Linked DNA regions of Homo sapiens: region 2 is linked to region 1. Evidence: promoter capture Hi-C in human tissues and cell types (Jung and others, 2019). All regions are on one chromosome and are shown on one strand. The core of a region is centred on a gene start or on the middle of the fragment in contact, and the rest is flanking DNA. Distances in the headings are between cores, read along the strand shown. Region 1 holds the start of HECTD4 (HECT domain E3 ubiquitin protein ligase 4). Region 2 overlaps HECTD4 (HECT domain E3 ubiquitin protein ligase 4).

What was found. Contacts are between HindIII fragments. The study calls those that stand out against the background at their distance.
Region 2: a contact is called between a fragment that was not itself captured here and the fragment with the promoter of HECTD4 in region 1, in 3 of the 25 tissues and cell types used here (IMR-90 fibroblasts, dorsolateral prefrontal cortex and lymphoblastoid cells).

The regions. Positions count from the first base shown.
Region 1 is chr12:112,377,856-112,385,356 of GRCh38, reverse strand. It overlaps HECTD4 (HECT domain E3 ubiquitin protein ligase 4), which reads left to right and starts at 2,926. Exons shown (of 76, transcript NM_001388303.1): 1 at 2,926-3,405. The coding sequence starts at 3,229. RefSeq lists silencers at 2,606-2,895, 3,006-3,275, 3,286-3,775 and enhancers at 2,783-3,282, 4,468-4,968. The HindIII fragment of the contact is 28,101 bases long and covers 1-7,501 here.
Region 2 is chr12:112,183,617-112,191,117 of GRCh38, reverse strand. It overlaps HECTD4 (HECT domain E3 ubiquitin protein ligase 4), which reads left to right. Exons shown (of 76, transcript NM_001388303.1): 60 at 153-332; 61 at 5,625-6,931. Among named protein-coding and RNA genes, the nearest start is that of MIR6861, 24 kb to the right of the region's middle. RefSeq lists enhancers at 5,986-6,555, 6,556-7,124. The HindIII fragment of the contact is 8,527 bases long and covers 90-7,501 here.

The DNA.
Region 1 (7,501 bases), core at 1,677-4,176:
CTAGGACTACAGCTGCACATCACGATGCTCACCTAATTTTGCTTGTTTATTTATTTATTTATTTATTTAGAGACAGCGTTGCACTCTTGTTGCCCAGGCTGGAGTGCAATGGCGCTATCTCGGCTCACCGCAACCTCCGCCTCCTGGGTTCAAGTGATTCTCCTGCCTCAGCCTCCTGAGTAGCTGGGACTACAGGTGCACGCCACGACACCTGGCTAATTTTTATATATTTTTTAGTAGAGAAAGGGTTTTGCCATGTTGGCCACGCTGCTCTCGAACTCCTGACCGCAGGTGATCTGCCTGCCTCAGCCTCCCAAAATGCTGGGATTACAGGTGCAAGCCACCACATCCAGCCTATATATATATTTTTAATTGTGATAGATAGTTGTTATTAGGTTTGGAAAAGGGAATGAAGGGCCGGGCGCGGTGGCTCACACCTGTAATCCCAGCACTTTGGGAGGCCGAGGCGGGTAGATCACGAGGTCAGGAGTTCGAGACCAGCCTGACCGACATGGTAAAACCCCGTCTCTACTAAAAATACAAAAATTAGCCAGGCATGGTGGTGCACGCCTGTAATCCCAGCTACTCGGGAGGCTGAGGCAGGAGAATCACTTGAAACCAGGAGGCAGAGGTTGCAGTGAGTCAAGAGGTTGCAGTGAGCCGAGATCATGCCATTGCACTCCAGCCTGGGCAACAGAGCAAGACTCCGTCTCAAAAAAAAAAAAAAAAGGAATGAAGGAGTTTTCTTACAGTCAAAATAAGGAAGCTGAAGTTGTAAAATCGGACAGACCTGGGTTTACATCTGAGCTTTGATGTTTACTGGCTTTGTGACATTGAGCAAAGTATCTAACTGAGTCTTGACTTCCCAGCTGAAAGTAGGAATAATAATACTCCCCCTCTCAGACATTTGGGAGGATTTGATGAAATGGCCATTCCATTACACTTGCCTGTTTTATTGTTTCCATGGTTCTGATCAACTCTGAACTGCTGGATTTATTGTTCTCTTCTTCCTCCTCTTCCTCTTCTTTTCTTCTTTTTTGAGACAGGGTCTTACTCTGTTGCCCAGGCTGGAGTGCAGTGGCATAATCTTAGCTGAATCACTGCAACTTCTGCCTTCTGGGCTCAAACGATCTTCCTGCTTCAGCCTCCTGAGTAGCTGGGACTATGGGTGTGCACCACCACGCCTGGCTAATTTTTGTATTTTTTGTAGTGACGGGGTTTTGTCATGTTGCCCAAGGGGGTCTCGAGCTTCTGGGCTCAAGAGATCTGCCAGCCTTGGCCTCCCAAAGTGTTGGGATTACCCACGTGAGCCACTGTGCCCGGCCATAATATTCCATCTTATGGATATATCATATTTTAGTTAACCAGCCCCATATTGTTGGACATCTAGATTGATAAGTTTTTCCTTTTGTAAACAATATTGAGCTACACAACCCTGTATATCCATCCTTGACTACGAGTCTGATTATTTCCTTCAGACAACTTCCTCAAAGTTGAATTGCTGGATCAAAGGGTATGCACCTTAATGTTCTCCTGTTATTGTTATTGTTATTATTATTATTATTATTATTATTGAGATGGAGTCTTGCTCTGTTGCCCAGGCTGGAGTGCAGTGGCATGATCTCGGCTCACTGCAACCTCCGCCTCCTGGGTTCCAGCTATTCTCCTGCCTCAGCCTCCTGAGTATCTGGGACTACAGGCATGTGCAACCATTCCTGGCTAATTTGTGTATTTTTTTTAGCAGAGACAGGGTTTCATCATGTTGACCAGGCTGGTCTCGAACTCCTGACCTCAGGTGATCTGCCCACCTTGGCCTCCCAAAGTGCTGGGATTACAGGTGTAAGCCACTGTGCCCGGCCTGTTTTATTATTTTTTAAGTGATAAAAATATACAAGTAATAGAGAACAATCTCATCTCAGTAGTTCCAGACCAGCCCCACACTCCCATGGCAACTCACCTTAAACATCTGGTGTGTATTTGTTCATGCATTGTTCTTTATACATATAGTTTTCCTTTCTTGTTTTTATAAAATGGCACTGGTGGGCATATATATATTTTTGGTGGGGAGGGAGGGATGGGGTCTCCCTCTGTCGCCCGGGCTGGAGTGCAGTGGCAAGATAATAGCTCACTGCAGCCTCCACCTCCTGAGTTCAAGAGATCCTCTTGCCTCAGCCTCCCGAGTAGCAGGACTACAGACGCTTGCCACCCTGCCCCGCTAATTTTTATTTTTTGTAGAGATGGGGTCTCCCTATGTTGCCCAGGCTGGCCTCAAACTTCTGGGCTCAAGCAGTCCTTCTGCCTTGACCTCCGTGCTGGGATTACAGGTGTGAGCCACCGCACCCGGCCTAGTGAGCATATTTTTAAGGTGTATGTCAATTAGTGTGGAACACTGATGGAACGAACATAGCAATAATTAGAATTGCCACTCATGGAGCACATATTAAGTGTCGGGCATTGAGCACCAAGCATTGTGGACAGACGCTTTATTTTCACCAGGTTTTGAGTGCTTACTGGGTACTAGACTTTTCAGTCAATATTAATCATCTACTATGTGATTCTACCAAGTGCTTATGAACAAGTGTGCAGCGCCTATTCTGCGCCAGCCTTTTGCTTGCATCTCATTTAAACGTGAAAACAAGGAGTGATCTCTATGCTCTGCCCAGGGTGGGGGCGCGGGCCCGAGCAAGGGGTGCACACCTGAGTAGGGACAGGACGGGGGAAGCGGCGTCCTCTTCCCTGGCGCGCTGCAAAGCCAGGGCTACCCTGAATGGCCAGGGGGAGAAGGGGCCGGCGGAGGTCAGGCCGAGGGCAGGCGGCAGCGAAGGGCTAGGCGGACGTCCAGGCCACCCGGGTGGCCTCGTCCGCGGAGCGGTGGGCGGAGCGGCGGGCGGGGCCTGTATTGTCCGCTCCGCGAGGCATGCCGGGAGCCCCGCCCCCAACATGGCGTCTCACTGACAGTTGGTTGCCGAGCGGCAGAGGCGGATCCTGCTCCTGAGGGCGGCGGCGGCGGCGGCGGCGGCGGCGGCGGCAGGGCCGGGGTCTCCCGGGCCGGGGTCGGGGGTATGGCGACTCGGACCGCCTAGGGCGGAGTTGCACGGGCGAGGCAGCAAGTGGGGCGCCGCTGGCGGGCGCGGCGGCCGCTGCCATGGACTGGTGATCGCGGCGGCTCCTGCTCCGTTTCCCCCGGCCGGGCGTCTGCTCCTCAGCGCCAAGCCTTCAGCCGGGGCCATGGGCTCGTCGGCGGCCGCGGCGGCGGCGGCGGCGGCGGCCGCTGACTCGGCGCAGTGGCTCTCGGTGAAGGAAGAGACCATCTTCCTGCACGACGGGCTGATCCGGGTCACCGACCTGGCCGAGCTGCCCAGCGAGATCCTCGGGGCCCCAGAGGCCGCGGACACCGACCTGGAGGTGAGCGAGGCGGCCCCCGGCCCCCGCCATCGGACTGACCCACTCGCCCGGCACCCCCGGGTCGGGCCCCCTCCTCGCCTCAGCCGCGGCCTCGCCTCCCGGCGGCTGCCGGGGCAGGTGTGTGTGGGCGCGGGGCGGGCAGGTGGGGCCGCGGCCGCAGGTCTGCGGACCGCCCGCCCCGCTCTCCCTCCCTCCCTCCTCGGGGCCTGGCGCCCGCAGGGGATTTCATTTGTGGTTTTCTTTTGAGCGTTCCGACACCCGGCATTTTATTAGGCTAGCGCCTGGCTCGGCCTTCATGCCCCAGAGGAGCCACCGCCACCACCCGGGCCCTCCCTCCCCTCCCCCACGGGCCCCCAGGACCCACTTCCAGGGCACACCCAGGTTGCTTAGCTTTGGGAACATTTTGATTTTCACGCTGTGTACCCTCCCATCCTTTTCTTCCCTAGTTCTGTTTTTTTTGTTTGGTTTGGTTTGGTTTTTTTCCGGGAGAGGGTAGTGGCAGCTGCGGGTCCGCGATGGGCAATCCAGCAACTTCTCTGTGTTGTGTCTCGGATGGATTGACACGGGGCCTTTGTCAGGGAAGCGGGCGCTGTGGACAGCGAGAGGGATGCTCCAGCGGCCCTCCATGCACTCTCGGGGAAGGGTCACTGGCGCGTTAGGCCGCAGGGCCTTTTTGTGTGCCCCGGGGGTCGCCAAGCATCCCGGGTTCAGAGCCGTGGCAGGTGCAACAGCAGATCTCATCAGTTGAGCTGCTTGGCCTTGGGGGCAGAAGGGAACCAAATATGCCTGGTTGGTGGGAACTTTCCATCGACTTCACTTGGGTTCGTGTTTGCCTAGAGGTGGGAATACTGGCAGTGTCGTTTCATGGAGGCCAACGGATGCTGACACTGCTCCCCTTCCACTTTGTGGGATGACATTTTGATGTGTAGGTAGCATGGGGTGTCATCAAATTTTTACTGCCGTAAGGAGAGCTTTCTGGGGTAGGGCGCAGAGAGGATGGCCTATCTTCTGGCTATAAACGGCATGCGAGGGATCTTTTGTGTTTTGCGGTTTTGCGTGCAGTTTGGCTTTACGCACAACGAACATTTATAGAAATGAATTAAAAGCCATTACTGTGTGTTTCTGGAAACGGCAGTGATCGGATCACATTGGCCGAGACATTTGGACGTGCTTGAGATGCGAATACGTTCCACTGTATTTTTGTGTCTGGATTTGCGGTTGCTTCAGCACTTCCGTTATGAACTCTTAATTGACTTATTTTACAATCTAGTCACCAAAAAGAGGAGGATATGGTTGGTAGGGAATTCCTAACATGGAATCATCGTTTTATTGTGTCTCATTTGGGCCTGTTCTATAACAAGCAAGGTGTGTCTGAGTGTCTTATCTGCCTGAAAACTCAAGGGGTATTATGCTATGATAGTGGAATCTTTTGATTTAATTGGCTGTGTTGTGTGTGAAAGGTGGAAAGTGGATGCTCTTTGTTTCTTTCTTTTCTTTTTTTTCCCCCGAGACCGAGTCTTGCTCTGTCGCCCAGGCTGGAGTGCAGTGGCGCGATCTCAGCCCACTGCAGCCTCTGCCTCCCGGATTCAAACGATTCTCCTGCCTCTGCCTCCCGAGTTGCTGGGATTACAGGCACGCGCCACCATGCCTGGCTAATTTTTGTATTTTTAGTAGAGACAGGGTTTCACCATGTTGGCCAGGCTGGTCTCGAACTCCTGACCTCAAGTGATCTGCCTGCCTTGGCTTCCCAAAGTGCTGAGATTACAGGCGTGAGCCACTATGCCGTGCCTATGCTCTTTGTTTCTTAAAGACTAATCCAAGTTCACAGAACCAAAATTTATACATATATGTCATTTATGTAGTTTATTTTTAGGATTAGAAAGAGTAGGATTAGTTAAAATATCTGTGATGTTGGTTTTCCTAAAATGTTTATAAATGTATTGCGTGAATTTGTCAGCTATTTCCACAGAAGAATGGTTTTCAAAGGAAAGAACCTCTCTGGCCTGCTAGATTTTTTTTTTTAATTGCTTTTTAAATTTATGGTCTGATTTCTCAGCAACTAGTATGTGTATGGGTGATAAACATTTATGACTGGTAGTAGTGAATAACTTGTTTCATTCTTTCCATGTTATACAGGCTCCATGGTATCAGGAGAAATAGATAGCTAAGAATGTTTTTGTGGCTATTAGATTTGTGTTTGTGTGGGTGTATTCACATATATATATATATATATAAAAAATCTTTTTATTTTTTATTTTGAGACAGGGTCTCTCTCTGTTGCCCAGGCTAGAGTGCAGTGGCTCCATCTCAGCTCACTGCAACCTCCACCTCCCGGGTTGAGGCAATTTTCCTGCCTCAGCCTCCCAAGTAGCTGGGATTACAGGCATACACCACCATGCCGGGCTAATTTTTGTATTTTTAGTAGAGACAAGGTTTTGCCATGTTGGCCAGGCAAGTCTCGAACTCCTGACCTCAGGTGATCCGCCTGCCTTGGCCTCCCAAAGTGCTGGGATTACAGGCATGAGCCACCATGCCCAGCACATATTTAATTACTTAATAATATTGATTAAATGTATCCTACATGTCAGGCATTATTTTATTAAATTCTCAAAAGAGCCTAACAATTGGAAATATTGCACTCATTGTACAGATGAAGGAAGTGCAGAGTAGGTATTCGACTTGTTCAAGAGCACATGAAGAGCTTGCACGTTAACCTAGTTCTGTTCACTGCACATCTGCTCCTCATCATAATATTTTATTGCCTCCATGCATGTATAGTATTTTTATTTGCAATTATTTTAAATTTCATAACTGGCTACAGAAGGAAGAATCTCTATTTTCTTTTAGTAACTGTTTCTTTTTCATATTTGAGGAAGATTCGTGGTCTATTAATTTTTGGTTTTTTTTTTTGAGACGGAGTCTTGCTCTGTCGCCCAGGCTGGAGTGCAGTGGCACAATCTCAGCTCACTGCAAGCTCCGCCTCCTGGGTTCACACCATTCTCCTGCCTCAGCCTCCCCAGCAGCTGGGACTACAGGCGCATGCCGCCACACCCAGCTAATTTTTGTATTTTTAGTAGAGACGGGGTTTCACCATGTTAGCCAGGATGGTCTCAATCTCCTGACCTTGTGATCCTCCCGCCTCGGCCTCCCAAAGTTCTGGGATTACAGGCGTGAGCCACAGCGTCTGGCCGGTTTATTAATTTTTTAAAAGCTATCTTTTGAAATACCACCACACCTATGAAATACAGTGTTTCAAGCCTCTCCTTCCAGTGGACATCTGGGTGAATAATGGCCATTTTCCACAGAGTTTTATAATATATAGAATCCTTCAGTTAACACTTTCGGATTATGAGGAACGGGACTCAAGTTGACTAATTATGACTGGCAACCTTACTGCAGAAGAGTGCAATAGACGTCTTAGAATTTTACGCCGGTCGCAGTGGCTCATGCCTGTAATCCCAGCAATTTGGGAGACCAAGACGGGCGAATCACAAGGTCAGGAGATTGAGACCATCCTGGCTAACACAGTGAAACCCCGTCTCTACTAAAAAAAAAAATACAAAAAATTAGCCGGGCGTGGTGGCGGGCGCTTGTAGTCCCAGCTACTCGGGAGGCTGAGGCAGGAGAATGGTGTGAACCCGGGAGGCGGAGCTTGCAGTGAGCTGAGATCGCGTCACTGCACTCCAGCCTGGGCAACATAGCGAGACTCCGTCAAAAAAAGAAAAAAAGAGTCTTAGAATTTTAGAGCAGAAGAGACTTTAGAGATAATAATGTCCCTCATTTTAGAAAGAAGTTCTCTGAGATCAGGAGATCTCAGTGATCAGAAGATGAGGTTATGACTTAGTCACTATAGCATAGCTAGTTGTGGCAGGGCAATGACTAGACCCTAGCTTTTCTACCTTTGGATTCCAGTGTTCTGTTCACCCTGTAAGCGCTGCTCAAAGTCAATCTAAAGAAAGAATCCCTCCTAAGAAGTAGATCAACATGAATTTAGTATTTTAATTTAAGCAGATCCAGAGTATTTGAATTAAAATTTTTCTTCCCAGTAAATTCTTTTTCTTTCTTTCTTTCTTTCTTTTTTGAGACCGAGTTTTAT
Region 2 (7,501 bases), core at 3,104-5,603, 200 kb after region 1:
GTGTCAGGAGTTATGTGTCCTCCTGCTGGAGCAGATGAGTGGGTGGGCTCTCCAGCCCTGTTTCTACATGCACACCTGGCAGGACCTTTTGTGAGGCTTATTTGGGTCAGGTGCTGCCAATCATCTGCTTTCTTCCTGGGTGCTTCTTGCAGGGGTGTCTCCACCTCCTGGAGCAGTCCTGGTGTTACATTCCCTGCCCCTGGAGTTCCCACTGGCTATGGCCTTCGCAGAGCAGCTGCTGTCCTGGAAATCAGAGGACAGTGAAGGGAAGTCCGAAGATGAGCCTGACACCATTCCGACATCCGTCCTCCTGCAGGTGGTGGAGCTGCTAGGTGAGGCTGCCTTCCCTGGGGATCGGAATCTAGGGTGGGGGTGGAGCTGGCATGGTGCCTGAGGAAGGAGCTTGCCAGGTGGTGTAGGGAGTGGCCACAGGTAGCCCAGGCAGCTGCAGCCTCCTTCAGATTGCTGTCATTTGAAGTGGGCTTGGGGAATAGATCTTAAGGTACAACCTAGACTCCCAAATCCATGATTTGCTGGGTATTTTCATTATTTTGAGGATTGGAAACTAACCAGGAAAATAAGATTAACTTTATCCACTTTACTTTAAAACAGAAGTATATGCCATTATTGTAACTTTAGGGGTGAAGGGTGGTGTGGAAATGAACAATGTTGCAAAATCAAAGGTTATAACTGCATAGTTCCTCAAAGGGTCAAAAAGGTTGCAAAACTCATGGAATGATAAATGTAAAAGTTGTGCATTTTACCATATGCAAATTTACCTAAACAAATTCTAAATAAATATTAAACTTTAATGATATGCCTCCTTAAGTGTTTAGGGATGAAGCATACTGATGTCTACAACTTATTTTGAAATAATCAAAAACTAAGATGGGTTTGTGGATGAATAGAGGAGTAGACAGATATGTAGTAGAGGAAATACAGCAACATGTTTATGGTGGAATCTAGCTGGTAAGTGCACAGGTGTTTACTGTATAATTTCTTCAGGCTTTCTATATTTTTGAATTTTTCCATAATGTTGCAGGGAAGAAAACATTGCACACTCGGGCCAGACGCAGTGGCTCACGCCTGTAATCCCAGCACTTTGGGAGGCCAAGGCGGGTTGATCACCTGAGGTCAGGAGTATGGAGACCAGCCTGACCAACATGATGAAACCCTGTCTCTACTAAATACAAAAAATTGGCCGGGCATGGTGGTGCATGCCTGTAGTCCCAGCTACTCAGGAGGCTGAGGCAGGAGGATCGCTTGAACCCAGGAGGCGGAGGTTGCAGTGAGCCAAGATTGCGCCATTGCACTCCAGCCTGGGCAACAAGAGCGAAACTCCATCTCAAAAAAACAGAAAACACTGCACACTCGGATGCCTTCAGTGCCTTCAGGGTTCAAACAGATCAGCTAAATGAGGGAAATAAAGAGGAAAGTTGGCAGGGGGACTTTGGTGAGCTGGAGGCACAGAGGACACGTGCCCTGTCATCCACTGCTGCAGGAGAACATGGCCCTGCTTCTGCCAGAACCGTAATTTCTTTCTTTTTTTTTTTTTTTTTTTTTTTTTGAGACGGAGTCTCGCTCTGTCGCCCAGTCTGGAGTGCAGTAGCGCCATCTTAGCTCACTGCAAGTCCGCCTCCCGGGTTCATGCCATTCTCCTGCCTCAGCCTCCAGAGTAGCTAGGACCACAGGCGCCCACCACCACGCCTGGCCAATTTTTTGTATTTTTAGTAGAGACAGGGTTTCACCATGTTAGCCAGGATAGTCTCGATCTCCTGACCTCGTGATCCACCCGCCTCGGCCTCCCAAAGTGCTGGGATTACAGACATCAGCCACTGCGCCCGGCCTGGAACCGTAATTTCTTATTTCAAGAAAATCCAGGAATCCAAATGTTGATGTGAATTTCTCAATTTTTAAATGTTGGCAACCAAGTCAAATGCTTTCATACACCCTAGGAGGGCCAAGCGCAGTGTGGTTCACACCTATGATCCAGCACTTTGAGAGGCTGAGGCAAGAGGATCACTTGAGTTCAGGATATGGAGCAACATAGCCAGACCCTTTCTCTGCAAAAAATAAAAAACACCCAGGGAGTGGATAGGGGGGACGTAAGCAGAGAACACTGTCTGAGAATAAGTTTCAGCGCATAGGCCGTCATGTGCAATTTTGGTGAAGAATTCTCTCCAAGGTCGTCTTACATGAATGCTAAATGGTAGAGCAAGGACAACGGAGGTGACATGAATAGTTCTGGCATCTGAGGGCCTAGCCCTGTGCCCCAGCAGAGAGGGGAGCAAGGACACCTGTCCTCTGTGGAGGTTCTATGAGAGCCCATGTTCCAGGACAGTCACAAACTTGTTTCCAACCAGAATTCGCAAGCAGTGTCAGTCCTGAGAGAGCAGGAAGCTTGATCCCCTCTTTGGTAGGTGCTGGACTTAGTAAGTCAGCTTCAGCAGGCCCTTGGGATTCCCCCGGCCAGTAATCTTTTATCCTGTACAAGAGCCATCTGGATGTAGCAAACTGCAGTTCACTCTTTTGCAGGGTAAGGGCTCAGCTGGCTCAGTGGGACACAGGCTTTAGATGTTCATGATCCCTAATCGTGTCTCACGTACATGAGCTTTCTCTCTTTCCACTCAGATCCAGGGTACATGACTATGTGAATGTAAGATATGCCTCTGGTATGAAGGAGACCTTGGCACAAACGTGTGGTCCATCTTGTGGTTCTAGACAGTGTTTCCCAAACTTCAGTCATTATCATGCCACCATTATATGATTGTTTCCATGTCCACAAATTGTGCCTGTCAGCATTTATTTACTTACTTATTTTATTTTTTTGAAATGTAGTCTCACTCTGTCACCCAGGCTGGAGCGCAGTGGTGCGATCTCAGCTCACTGCAACTTCCACCTCCTGGGTTCAAGTGATTCTCCTGCCCCAGCCTCCTGAGTAGTTGGGAATACAGGCGCCCGCTACCATGCCCAGCTAATTTTTTTGTATTTTTAGTAGAAACAGGATTTCACCATGTTAGCCAGGCTGGTCTCAGTCTCCTGACCTCAGGTGACCCACCTGCCTTGGCCTCCCATAGTACTGGGATTACAGGCATGAACCACTGAGCCCAGCCAGCATGCATATATTTAACAGTTTTTATTGCAATCAACTCCTCCTTTTTTAAAACTTAAATTTAGTTTTAAGGAAACCTTGGCTGGGCACAGTGGCTCATGCCTGTAATCCCAGCACTTTGGGAGGCCAAGGCGGGCGGATCACGAGGTCAGGAGATCAAGACCATCCTGGCTAACACAGTGAAACCGTGTCTCTACTAAAAATACAAAAAATTAGCCGGGTGTGATAGCGGGCGCCTGTGGTCCCAGCTACTTGGGAGGCTGAGGCAAGAGAATGGTGTGAACCCAGGAGGCGGAGCTTACAGTGAGCCGAGATGGCACCACGGCACTCCAGCCTGGGCGACAGAGTGGGACTCCGTCTCAAAAAAAAAAAAAAAAAAAAAAGGAAAGGAAACCTTTACATCACTTCTTTAAATACAAAATTAGTATCCATTGGCATAACTAACAGGTACCCATAAAAATAAATACAGGCCGGGCCTGGTGTCTCACGCCTGTAATCCCAGCACTTTGGGAGGCTGAGGCAAAAGGATGGCTTGAGCCCAGGAGTTCAAGACCAGCCAGGACAACACAATGAGACCCTGTCTCAATCAATCAATCAGTCCATCTATCCATCCATTCATACATACATACATTCAAAGAAAATAGTTGCCGTCACAAAAATCTAGCTGAATGCTGTTCCCTGTCAAAGGCTCTGGGACTCTGGCCCACTTTCTCTTAAGGCTATGCCAGCCGGCCAGGCGCAGTGGCTCACACCTATAATCCCAGCACTTTGGGAGGCTGTGGGCAGATCACCTGAGGTCGGGAGTTCGAGACCAGCCTGACCAACACGGAGGAACCCTGTCTCTACAAAAAATACAAAATTAGCCGGGTGTGGTGGTGCATGCCTGTAATCCAAGCTACTCGGGAGGCTGAGGCAGGAGAATTGCTTGAACCTGGGAGGCGGAGGTTGCGGTGAGCCAAGATCACGCCATTGCACTCCAGCCTGGGCAACAAGAGCGAAACTCCATCTCAAAAAAACAAAAAAGAATATGCCAGCCTTGGCCAGGTACAGTGGCTCACATCTGTAATCCCAGCACTTTGGGAGGCTGAGGCACACGGACCACTTGAGGCCAGAAGTTCAAGACCGGCCTGGCCAACATGACGATACCCCATCTCTGCTAAAAATATAAAAATTAGCTGGGTGTGGTGGCACATGCCTGTAATTCAAGTTATTCTGGACACTGAAGCATGAGAATTGCTTGAACCTGGGAGGCGGAGGTTGCAGTGAGCTGAGATCGCGCCACTGCACTCCAGCCTGGGTGATAAGAGACAGACTCTGTCTCAATTTAAAAAAAAAAAAAAAAAGCAGCTTAAAAAATTACTAAAGAAGGTCGGGCACAGTGGCTCATGCCTGTAATCCCAGTACTTTGGGAGACTGAGGCGGGTGGATCACGAGGTAGGTCAGGAGTTCAAGACCAGCCTGGCCAAGATGGTGAAACCCCATCTCTACTAAAAATACAAAAATTAACTGGGCATGCTGGTAGGAGCCTGTAATCCCAGCTATGCGGGAGGCTGAGGCAGAGAATTGCTTGAACCCAGGAGTCAGAGGTTGCAGTGAGCTGAGATCACGCCACTGCACTCCAGCCTGGGTACCAGAGTAAGACTCACTCTCAAAAAAAAAAAAAATTATTAAAAAAATAATTAAAAAAAAAAAAAAAAAAGAATATGCCAGCCTCATGGCCAGGCACAATGGCACACACCTGTAAACCCAGCACTTTGGGAGGCTGAGGTGGGAGGATTGCTTGAGCCCAGGAGTTCTAGACCAGCCTGGGCAACATGGCAAAACCATGAAAACTGTCTCTGCAAAAGAAAAATAATAATACAAAAATTAGCTGGGCATGGTCTCACACTCCTGTAATCCCAGCTACTCAGGAGGCTGAGGTATCACTTGAGCCTAGGAGCAACAGTGAGCTATGATTGTGCCACTGCACTTCAGCCTGGGTGACAGAGCAAGACCCTGTCTCAAAAAAGAAAAATAAAATAAATAATGCCACCCTCAAAGTAAGGCTTTCTTGTTGGCAAAAATCAGGACTAAAAGAGGAGTTTAAAAGGAACAGTGTTTCAGTGTGTGTTTCAGTGCTGTTTGGTAAAATTGGCTTGTGTGCCCCATAGTAAGCATCCAGTACTTTGGGAAACATTATTCTAGGGACTTATCACCAACATGCTGCATAACCTTTTGAGACAAAATATGATGGTGTTTTGCTGGCACCCTGCCATTGGGCACAAGGGTCAAAGCCGTCACCTCTGGAGCTGACCTGTCAGCTCTGAATCTTAGCTCTCTTGTCTGGTAGCTGTTGTGCCTTCCAGCCAGGCCTCCACCTCCCAACCTCTGTTTCTCCATCTGTAAGAAGGGACTGAATTGCGCAGTCAGTGTTCACAGGGTTGTTATGAGGGTTGATTCCAGGCTCAGAACTGCGCCTGGAACATAGCCAGTGCTGCATAGTAATTACTGTTACTATTTTCATTTGCCTCAGGAAACTTCTTGTGGACCACGGACATGGCAGCCTGCGTGAAGGAGCTTGTTTTCCATCTCCTGGCAGAGCTCCTGCGCACGGTGCACACCCTGGAGCAGAGGCGGCACCCCGCTGGCCTGTCCTCCTCAATCGCCCTCCAGCTGAACCCCTGCCTGGCCATGCTGATGGCCTTGCAGTCGGAGCTCCACAAGCTGTACGACGAGGAGACGCAGAACTGGGTCTCAGGCGGCGCCTGCGGGGGCTCCGGGGGGGCGGCGGCCGGTGACCAGGGCAGGTTCTCTACGTATTTTCATGCACTCATGGAAGGGTGCCTGGCTGTGGCCGAAGTGACCCTGCCTACTAACATGAGTGTCACAGCCAGTGGGGTGACCTCAGCGACCGCCCCAAATCTCAGTGACTCGTCCTCCTCCTCCTCGTCCTCCCCAGGACAGACCCCACAGAGTCCCAGCCTCCTCTCCAAGAGGAAAAAAGTCAAGATGAAGCGGGAAAAGGCCTCCTCGTCGGGCAAGCGCCAGTCTTCCCGCACCGTGGACTCGGACCCCACCGTGCTCAGCATCGGAGGCAGCAAGCCCGAGGACATGCTGTGGTTCCACCGCGCACTCACCCTGCTCATCATCCTCCGCCACCTCACCAGGAAGGACCCACAGGGGCTGGGCGTGACGAGTGACGCCATCGCCGATGCCTGCCAGGCCCTGGTGGGCCCCACCGCCCACAGCCGCTTGCTGGTGATCTCCGGGATCCCCACCCACCTGGACGAGGGCGTAGTCAGAGGCGCCATCCGCAAGGCCTGCAACGCCCACGGCGGGGTCTTCAAAGACGAGATCTACATCCCGCTGCAGGAAGAAGACACCAAGAAGCCAAAAGACAAGGCCGAGGGCGGGGACGGGAAAGTTGAGCCCGAGAAGACACTGGCCTTCCCCGGCACAGACAGCATGGAGGTCAGCACGTCCAGCAGCCTGACCCCCGCCATGAGCATCAGCGCCTCCGCCTCCACCAGCCAGGCCTCCATCTGCAGCTCGCAGGGCATCTCCCAAACCGTCAGCGACCTCTCTGTGGATCCGCTGCCTGCCGGCCTCGAGCTGCCCATCCCTCCGGGCCTGTTGGAGCCCCACGCGGTGTCCAGCCAGGAAAGCCTGGACATTTCCCTGTGCAGCACCGGCAGCCTGGGCAGCCTGGGCAGCCTGGGGGAGCCCCTGGACAATGCAGAGACGGCCTCGGTGTCGGACATGGGCTCCATGTACACAGTCACTTCCCTGGACAACCAGCCCCTCGCCGCCCGCCCCATCAAAGGCTTCGCAGTCGTGGAGGTAACAGCTTTCAAGCCTCTGCAACCACTAAATCATGACCCATTTCAATCCCCCAAGCCTCTTTAAATCTTCCAAAGTTATTTCCTAGTAGGTAATGGTGGAGCGGTTGGGGGCTCCCTGGGGCAGCCCTTGGAATGAGCACAGTGAGGCTGCTTGGGGTAACGTCTCTGAGTGACACCAAGTCCCATATCACGAAGTAAAGGGGAGCCAGAGGGCTCAGGGCCTGGCCTTCCGCGGTGGGTGGGCGCCATCAGTGCATTCTGACTCAGCCCCATCGCATCTTGAATGGCCTTGGGTTCTTTTTGTTCTTTTTGGTGTTGCCATTGGCAGGAGGGATGGTCACTGAGCAGCATGAGAATAGACTCCTGCCATTCTGTCCCAGGTGATTCTGAGTTTCAGATGACCTGCATGCTAGTGAGTCATAGTTCCACTTCAGGATCCCATGTATTCCTTAGGCCTCGCCGTTTAGAAATCCTGCATCAGAGCCTTTCTGTGCTTTTGCATAACAGTAAGGTAGGGAACTGACATGCATTACTCTCCCAGCAGGCTCTGCAAGGAGGGTTGAAGGAT